2 separate regions of the Homo sapiens genome follow, and region 2 is linked to region 1. The links are contacts of gene promoters, found by promoter capture Hi-C in human tissues and cell types (Jung and others, 2019). All regions are on one chromosome and are shown on one strand. Each heading gives the region's core, a stretch centred on a gene start or on the middle of the fragment in contact. The rest is flanking DNA. Distances are from core to core; before and after follow the strand shown. Region 1 holds the start of CBFA2T2 (CBFA2/RUNX1 partner transcriptional co-repressor 2). Region 2 overlaps ZNF341 (zinc finger protein 341).

What was found. Contacts are between HindIII fragments. The study calls those that stand out against the background at their distance.
Region 2: a contact is called between a fragment that was not itself captured here and the fragment with the promoter of CBFA2T2 in region 1, in 2 of the 25 tissues and cell types used here (H1 embryonic stem cells and pancreas).

What each region holds. Positions count from the first base shown.
Region 1 is chr20:33,487,762-33,492,379 of GRCh38, reverse strand. CBFA2T2 (CBFA2/RUNX1 partner transcriptional co-repressor 2) reads right to left here and starts at 2,284. Exons shown (of 11, transcript NM_001032999.3): 1 at 2,079-2,284. The coding sequence starts at 2,112. RefSeq lists silencers at 1,965-2,244, 2,255-2,474 and an enhancer at 2,569-3,117. The HindIII fragment of the contact is 17,917 bases long and covers 1-4,618 here.
Region 2 is chr20:33,790,570-33,795,187 of GRCh38, reverse strand. It overlaps ZNF341 (zinc finger protein 341), which reads right to left. Exons shown (of 15, transcript NM_001282933.2): 15 at 2,919-4,200. The coding sequence ends at 3,671. The region is part of intron 3 of ZNF341-AS1 (ZNF341 antisense RNA 1); the gene reads left to right. Among named protein-coding and RNA genes, the nearest start is that of ZNF341-AS1, 18 kb to the left of the region's middle. RefSeq lists an enhancer at 2,751-3,045. The HindIII fragment of the contact is 6,106 bases long and covers 1-4,618 here.

The DNA.
Region 1 (4,618 bases), core at 1,035-3,534:
AAGGAAGACTACTTCATAGGCAGAAGAGCCCCCCAATTTTTTCAAATAAAAAGTCCTTTCTGGTCAGGCTTGGTGACTCACGCTCGTAATCCCAGCACTTTGGGAGGCTGAGGTGGGTGAATTACCTGAGGTCAGGGGTTCGAGACCAGCCTGACCAATATGGTGAAACCCTGTCTCTACTAAAAATATAAAAATTAAGGCCGGGCGCAGTGGCTCATGCCTCTAATCCCAGCACTTTGAGAGGCTGAGGCAGATGGATCCCCTGAGTTCAGGAGTTCACGACCAGCCTGGCCAACATGGTAAAACCGTCTCTACTAAAAATGCAAAAAATTAGTCAGGTGTGGTGGCAGGCGCCTGTAATCGCAGCTACTCTGGAGGCTGATGCAGGAGAATCGCTTGAACCTGGGGCGGGGGGAGGTTGCAGTGAGCCGATATTGTACTACTGCACTCCAGCCTGGGCAACAAGAACAAAACTCCGTCTCAAAAAAAATAATAAAATAAAATAAAATAATTGGCCGAGCGTGGTGGCATATGCCTGTAGTCCCAGCTACTCCGGAGGCTGAGACAGGAGAATAGCTTGAACCCAGGAGACGGAGGTTGCAGTGAGCCAAGATCACACCCCTGCACTCCAGTCTGGGCGACAGAGCAAGATTCCGTCTCAAAAAAAAAAAAGCCTTTCATTTTACAGAGATGCTGTACCTTTGCAAGCCTAAAAGAGTAATCACTATCCGCCTCTTTAGTTGGAAATTTCATGAGGAATGGATCAAACCATCAAAAGCAGTAACTGCAAGCTGGGTGTATCTACTTTTTCTATCTTCAATCCAACATTTAATGGGTGCAAAAAAAAAGAAGCGTAAAGCCTCCCTTTCACGTGTTTAAGGACATCAGCTCTGAGACTAGTACTCAGAGTACCTTCTGTTACTCAGTTTCATCCTCTGCAAAATGGGCATCCTCAAATAATGTCTTACTTAGGATGTCATCAAGATTAAACAATTAAAAAAACATGCAAAACATGTTTATCTGTTTCCTCATTTACTATGTCTCTCCCTCTCCTAACTAAACTCAAAACCCCAGTTCGGTCTATCTTGTTTATTGTATTCCCAGGGCCTGGAATGGTATTTTTAAACTTACTATATGATTTAATAAATATTAAGTGAATAGAATGCAAAATGTCTGGTGCTCAAAAAAATGTTGGCTATTATAATTACAATAATGAAAAACAATTAAAATTTTATTGTTCTTATTCAGAGAAGCCACCCCTCCCCCAAGGATCTCACACATCAAGGAGGAACACTAGATAAATACTGGAATGGCTAAATGGAAGTAAGAATAACAATTAGATCATGGAGCAGGACTAACAGACAACAAAACAAAATCTTAACACGGCTAGAGCCTAATTTCGGACTTTTCCGAGTGCGGTGCACACTGGATCAGATTAATAAAGGACGATTACAATAATGACAGTTTTCACAATTGTGTGTGTGCCACGGTCGGTGTCAAGCGTTTTACTGGCCTCACAAAACCCAAGAACCCTGGGGGAGGGAGGGAACCCGCTCCACATCCCCATTTTGCAGATGGGGGAACTGAGGCACCGGGAGAGCCAAGGTCACTACCTAAATGGGGAAGCCTGGATGTGAACCCAGGTAGCCAACTACTGAGCCTGCGCTCAAACAGGCCCTCCGAGGGGCCATTCTCATCTCCTCCAACCCTCAACATCGGGCGGGTGTAGTATTTCCCCAGGAGCCGGACTTCGTGGCCCCAGCGCTGGGACAACAAAATGATTCTTGCCCGCCGGCAAGTCCCATGGACGCCGGCCCGGCCTAAGTTCCGAGGCCGCGGGCCCCACAATTTCCCTCACACCGTGAGCCCCGAGCTCTTCGGGCGGCGCAGGAAGCGACGGGGTGGCCTCAGGAGCCCGGGAAGGCCCGCCCCGCTGCGTGACCTTGGATCCGCCGCCCCGCTTCGGGCCTCAGTTTCCACTCCCGGCCTCGCGCCCGGGGCACTCGGAATCACCGCGCCTGCGGAGCCGCAGGCCCTCACACGCCCCCCTCGGCCGCCCGCATTCACGCCCCACTTACGCTGGAAGGCGGCCGCTCCAGGGACGCCTACCATCGCCGAGCGCCGCCGCCGCGCGCCGCCCGCCTCTACCCGCGACACGGGTCCCTCGCAGGCGCCGCCCGCCTCGACCCGCGGCCCGGGTCCCTCGCAGGCGTCGCCGCGAGATCTGCAGCCGCCGAGCTAACCAGACACCACCACCGCTGCTGTCGCCGTCGCCGCCGCCGCCGCCGCCGTTAGGCCGCGCCCCGCCCCGCCCCCGGCTGGCCCCGCCCCGCCCGCCGGGCACGCCCCCGCCGCGCGCTCTCGCCGCCAGGCCAACGCACGCGGAAGCCCGGCCCCAAGACCAGCTCCCATTAAGCACCGCCCCCTAACCTGACCCGCCCCTTCCGCGGGAACCGACCGCCGAATCCCGGCGCAGCCTGCTTCTCAGACCTGCCCCCTCGGCGTCACGCGCGCCCGTCACGCGCACGGCCCACTTTCTAGCTCCAGACTTCCCGGTGTAGCCAGGGCAGTGGCCCAGGCTCGGGGGCCGAGTGCTAGGGGGAGGGATTACAACGAGTGGCAACGTCTCACCTGAGTTCTCCAGGTACAGGCCTGATGGCTTTTGCGCATGCCTTTGAGCGAGCCCCCTGGCTCAAAGTGTTTTTGGCCTGAAGTATTCTAAATGCCTAAAATTTCATCATCGTAATTTTAATAACTGTTGGCCGGGCGTGGTGGCCCACGCCTGTAATCCTAGTACTTTGGGAGGCCAAAGGAGAGTCACTTGAGCTCAGGAGTTTGAGACTAGCGTCTCTATTAAAAAAATAAATAAATAAAAATAAAAAATAGACCAGGCACGGTGGCTCAGGCCTATAATCCTAACACTTTGGGAGGCCGAGGAGGGTGGATTACCTGAGGTCAGAACTTCGAGGCTAGTCTGGCCAATGTGGCGAAACGCTGTCTCTACTAAAAATACAAAACTTAGAGCCGGGCGCAGTGGCTCAAGCCTGTAATCCTAGCACTTTGGGAGGCCGAGGCGGGAGGATCACGAGGTCAGGAGTTTGAAGACCAGTCTGGCCTATAAGGTGAAACCCTATCTCTACTAAAAAAATAAATAAATAAAAATACAAAAATTAGCCTGGTGCGGTGGCGCGTGCCTTTAGTCCCAGCTACTCGGGAGGCTGGGGCAGGAGAATCACTTGAATCCGGGAGGGGGAGGTTGCAGTGAGCCGAGATCGGAGCCATTGCACTCCAGCCTGAGCAAAAAGAGCAAAACTCCGTATCAAAAAAACAAAACAAGGCCAGGAGCTGTGGCTCACCCCTGTAATCCCAGCACTTTGGGACGCCGAAGCTGGCAGATCACAGCTCAGGATTTGGAGACCAGCCTGACCAACGTGGTGAAACCCCGTCTGTACTAAAAATACAAAAATTAGCTGGACTTGGTTTCACAAGCCTGTAATCCCAGCTAATCAGGAGGCTGAGACAGGAGAATTGCTTGAACCCCGGAGGCGGAGGTTGCACCGAGCCAAGATCACGACACTGCACTCCCACCTGGGTGACAGAGCGAGACTCCCTCTCAAAAAACAAAACAAAACAAAACAAAAAAATTAGCTGGGCGCGGTGGCGGGTGTCCATAATCCCAGCTACTCGGGAGGCTGAGGCAGGAGAGTCGCTTGAACCTGGGAGGCAGAGGTTGCAGTGAACCGAAATCGCGCCACTACACTCTAGCCTGGGCAACAGAGGGAAGCTCCGTCTGAAAAGAAAAGAAAAGAATAAAGACTCTTGTTTCTCAGTATTATTTCAGATATCTCACACCAAGAATATAGAATGCATTTGTATTTTACTTGTGTATTGAAAACAAATTTTAAAAGACAGAATGTAGGCCGGCCGGGTACAGTGGTTTATGCCTCTAATCCCGGCACTTTGGGAGGCCAAGGCAGGTGGATCGCTTGAGTCCAGGAGTTCAAGACTAGCCTGGGTAACACGGGGAAACCGCGCCTGTACAAAAAATACAAAAATTAGCCAGACATGGTGTTGCACACACGCTTGTAGTCTCAGCTACACAGAAGGCTGCGGTGGGAGGATCATATGAGCCAGGGAGTCAGAGGTTTCAGTTACCCCAGATCAGACCAATGTACTCTGGCCTGATCTAACAGATCAGGCGTGAGTAACAGAGTGAGACCCTGTCTCAAAAAAAGAAAAAAAAATGTAGAAATAAGAACATATGTGCATATACCAGCTGGGTATAGTGGTTCACACCTGTAATCCTAGCACTTTGGGAGGCTGAAGTGGGCAGATCACAAAAGGTCAGGAGTTCGAGACCAGCCTGGCCAACATGGTGAAAACCTGTCTCTACTAAAAATACAAAAGTTAGCCAGGAGTGGTGGCGTGTGCCTGTAGTCTCAGCTACTCAGGAGGCTGAGGCAGGAGGATGGCTTGAACTTGGGAGGTGGCAGTTGCAGTGAGCCAAGATCATGCCACTGCACTCCAGCCTGGGCCACAAAGCAAGACTCTGTCTCAAAACAAAACAAAAAAAAAAAAAAGAGAGAGAAGAAAAGAACATATGTGGCCAGGCATGGTG
Region 2 (4,618 bases), core at 1,185-3,684, 300 kb before region 1:
GCAACCACGAATGGCTAATTTTTTGTAGTAGAGATGGGGTTTCGCCATGTTGGCCAAGCTGGTCTCGAACCCCTGACCTCAGGTGATCCGCCCATCTTGGCCTCCCAAAGTGCTGGGATTACAGGAGTGAGCCACCACACCCGGTAAAAAAACTGTGATCTTTCTGGGGGTGGAGTGAGACCCTGGATGCCTAGGCCAGCCCCTTTTTATGCTCCACTCTGTCCAGCATCTTGGAGTTCGGTGGCAGACCCTGGGGTCCTGGAGCAGCTATCTCCAACTTTCTTTTTTATTATTTATTTATTTATTTATTTATTTATTTATTTATTTAATGAGACAGAGTCTTGCTCTCCCCCAAGCTGGAGAGCAGTGGCATGATCTCGGCTCACTGCAACCTCCGCCTCCCAGGTTCAAGCGATTCTCCTGCCTCAGCCTCCCAAGTAGCTGGGACCAGCTCCAGGGCCACCACATCTGGCTAATTTTTTGTATTTTTAGTAGAGACAGGGTTTCACCATGTTAGCCAGGATGGTCTTGATATCCTGTCCTCGTGATCTGCCTGCCTCGGCCTCTCAAAGTGCTGGGATTTGTCACCAACTTTCTGTTAAACATTATAGCTGATCTTGGTATGTCCTTATCTGTGGCTTGGCTCTGCTACTTCCCTCCTGTGTGACTTTGGGCTGCTTAACCTTAATGTGCCTGTTGCCTCATCTCAGCTGCAAAATGGGCTTAAAAGTAGTGCCTACATTGAGGTGCTGGGGATGGTGCCAGGCATTCATTCGATAACTAATAAATGTTAGTTCTCGTGATTACCAGTAGACGTGTATGCCTGTGTGCACTGACAGGAAGAAGCTATAGAAAAACCACTTAAATAGTTATATTAGGAAGAAGATGTCATTTTTTTTTCTTTTTTTGAGATGGAGTTTCACTCTTGTCACCCAGATTGGAGTGCAATGTCACGGGATCTCAGCTCACTGCAAACTCTGCCTCCCGGGTTCAAGCGATTCTCCTGCCTCAGCCTCCCAAGTAGCTGAGATTACTGGCATGTGCCACCACGCCCAGCTAATTTTTTTGTATTATTAGTAGAGATGGGGTTTCACCATGTTGGCCAGGATAGTCTCAAACTCCTGACATCGGGTGATCCACCCGCCTCGGCCTCCCAAAGTGCTGGGATTATAGGAGTGAGCCACCACACCCGGCTGAAGATGTCGTTCTTCACATTTCTTTCAATGCCATTGTTACAACTTTTAAAAATGTTCACTGTCTCCCATGACTCCCCTTCATTATGTGGAGAATAAAGTCCAGATTCCTTAACCCACATCTAAGGCCCTCTCTGATTCATCAACCCACACTTCAATCGTGGAAAGTGGCTAAGAACCCATGGAGGCAGGCTGCCGTGGCTTGAGTCCCAGCTCTGCAGCTTTCCTGGCTGTGTGAGCTTGGGTAAGGAAGTTTACCCCTCTGGGCCTGGGTTTTCTCAGCTGTAAAATACAGAAAGTAACAGCACTCACATGACAGGCTGAGGCGACGTGACTGTAAATAGCCTGGCACAGTGTCCCTCGTGTGGAGAAGGTGAAGCAACAGCCATGATCATTATCCACCTACTCCTCTGAGACCTCTGGTCACCCTGGAACATCCGCCGGCCCCAGAACATAGCAGGCCTGGCACTGTCCCACCCCAAGGTGTTTGCACGCGCCCTGCTCTCACCCAGCACACCTTCCCCTATCCATCCACCCATCAAAGCACCCCGGGCCAAGGCCCAGCTCCAGGGGCATCCCCTCTGACTTCCTGTCCCCACCAGTCCCCCTCGGGCCTTTGTGCAGGCCGGTACACTTACACACCTCACCCCCATCAACTCTGTCCCTCCTGCCGCGTCACACCCTTCCTGAGGATGTGGGAAGCTGGGCCTGGCTCTGAGTTCCAGCCCTGAGATCCAACACAGATGCCTGAGGGACCTGCCAGCCTTCAAAACAATTCAGTCATCAAATGGAGTCCAACAGCCCAGAAGGGTGGCTGTGAAGATAAACAGGAAAACACTAGTCAAGGCCCTTTTCTCCTTCCCGCCTCCTCATGAGCCCGGTCCACCTCCCACCGGGACCAGCTGAGAGGTAGGAGGAAGCACTGGACGCGGTGACATTGATGGCCTCCAGATGCCGACACGAGAGGGATTTCTGATCTTGTTTACAACGGATTTGGAGGTGGCTAACTATCCTGAATTCCCACAAGTGAGTACAAACCCCGACCCCCATGGGGTGTTGTCCTGGACTGTTTTCTGTGGATGGGTGTTCCCAATTTCCTTTCTTTTTTTTCGTTTCTTTTCTTTTTTTTTAAATCTTTGAGACAGGGTCTTGCTCAGTTGCCCAGGCTGGAATGCAGTGGCACAATCTCAGCTCACTGCAGCCTCAACCTCCTGGGCTCAAGTGATCCTCCCACATTAGCCTCCAGCATATCTGGGACTGCAGGCACCCACCACCATGCCCAGCTAATTTTTTTTTTTTTTTTTTGAGACAGGGTCTCACTCTGTCTCCCACACTGGAGTGCAGTGGCACGATCTCAGCTCACTGCAACCTCTGTCTCCTGGGTTCAAGTGATTCTCCCGCCTCAGCCTCCCAAGTAGCTGGGAATACAGGTGTGCACCACCACACCCGGTTAATTTTTGTATTTTTACTAGAGACGAGGTTTTGCCATGTTGGCCAGACTGGTCTCAAACTCCTGATCTCAGGTGATCAGCCCACCTTGGCCTCCCAAAGTGCTGGGATTACAGGCATGAGCTGCCGTGCCCAGCCTTGCTTCCCTTATCATCTCTCCAGGGCTCCCTGTGTGAGGGGCCTGGGACCCCTCAGCCACCACAAGCTTCAGAGGGGGAGTGCTGCCACCTAGGGGCAAAGAAGGAAACTGCCACAGCTTGGCCCAGGCCACCCGGACACGTTATGACAAAAACATTTATTGAGCACTTTCTGCGTGCCGGGCACCATGCCAAGCCCCTGGCGCACTTCATCATACTGGATCCCCAGGACAACCCTATGAGGTAGTAGTATCGTAAGCCCCATTGTACAGATGAGGAACACGGGGCTCAGAGAAGTGAAGTGACTTGCCCAAGGTCACACAGCAAGTGCATGGCAACTCTTGGATTTGAAGCCAGATCTGTCTCATAGCTGCAGTCTAGCCGTGACACCTGAGTGCCTCCTAAAAGCTACATCACAGAGCTGTCTGAGGATGCTGTGGGGAACCGTCTGTGAAAAGGTGCAACACGTAAACTCCGAAGAGTTTATGGCAGGCCTCCTGAAGAACAGCAGACTAGAGGCTACCCAGAGGCAGCCTGGAGACAGAGTGGGGAGGAATGCCCTGTCTCCTCTCCCAGGGGCCCCGACCACCAGCCTAGACCAGCGGGACTCTGGGCTGCTCAGGCTTCAGCCATCTCTCTCCTGCCACCATGGCTCTGCCCAGAAACCGTGGATGGCCCTGCCCCCAACCCTAGAATGTTGCAGGGCTTTCCGGCAGGAGAGGGGCACAGGAGGGCGACCATGGGCTGAGGTTTCTGAATGACATTCAGCAGGATTTCTGCCAATGGCTCGATGGCTCGCTTCCACTGGTAAGGATCACCGGTCTGCCCCCAGGGGCCCTGGACCCAAACAGGAGCATCAGGCCTGCCCAGGAAACAGACACCTCAGGTCCGTCACTCGGAGGCCTGGATGTAGACGGGCACAGCGAGCATGGCACATGGGCCCTCGGCCCCAGCCTGCAGCTCCGCCAGAGCCAGGTTGGAGCCCAGCCCCTCAGCGTGTCCAGGTACCACCAGCTCAGTTTCCGCGCCCACCGCACCACCCACAACGATGGACAGCACCGCGTCCGGCTCTGCGAAGGGCGGCTTGCCGGGGACAGCCTCGGGCACCAGCCCAGCCCCTGTGTCCTTCAGCTCCTCCAGCCCCAGCGGGTCAGGCAAGGGGGTCAGCACCTTGCGCCCACCACTGCCGCAACTGCGGGGGGCTGCCCTCCTCTGGGGGGGCCGCCGGGTTTGCAGGTCCTTGTCCTTTTGGGGGCCGAGACGACAGCGGTGATCTTTGAGGTATTTGTGGCGGGAAAAGCCCTTGGCGCAGCCAGCACAGCGGAACTTGTAGTTGCCCGTGTGGGCGCGCTGATGCTCGGCGAGGTGGGCACGGCGGCTGAAGGACTTGCTGCACAGGGCGCATTTGTGGAGCTTCATGCCTGGAGGGCAAGGGAAAGTCAGTGAGAAGCATCCAGACCTTCACCCCGCAACAGTGCCCTGCGCTGGGAATAAAATCCAGGCTCTTTCCCCACCAGCACCTGTGTGATCTGGCCCCAGCTCTCTCCACCCTCGTCGTCTGCCTTCTTCCAGCCACTCTCTGCGCCAGCCACACTCGCTCTCCTCAGAGATGCCACGCTGGCTCCTCCCTCTGCGCCTTTGTACTTGCCATTCTCCTCTGCCTGGAACAGCTGCTCACTCTCTGCACCTTGGCTCGCTTTGCCAGGTCATCTCAGGCTCAGGGAGGGGCCGTGACGCCTGAGGCCACCCACAGGAACATGGCAGCACTAAGACTCCAACCCAGCCCTGTGTGTCCAAGTCATTGACCTACTCTCCCAGTTTTCACACTTTCTTTAGTGA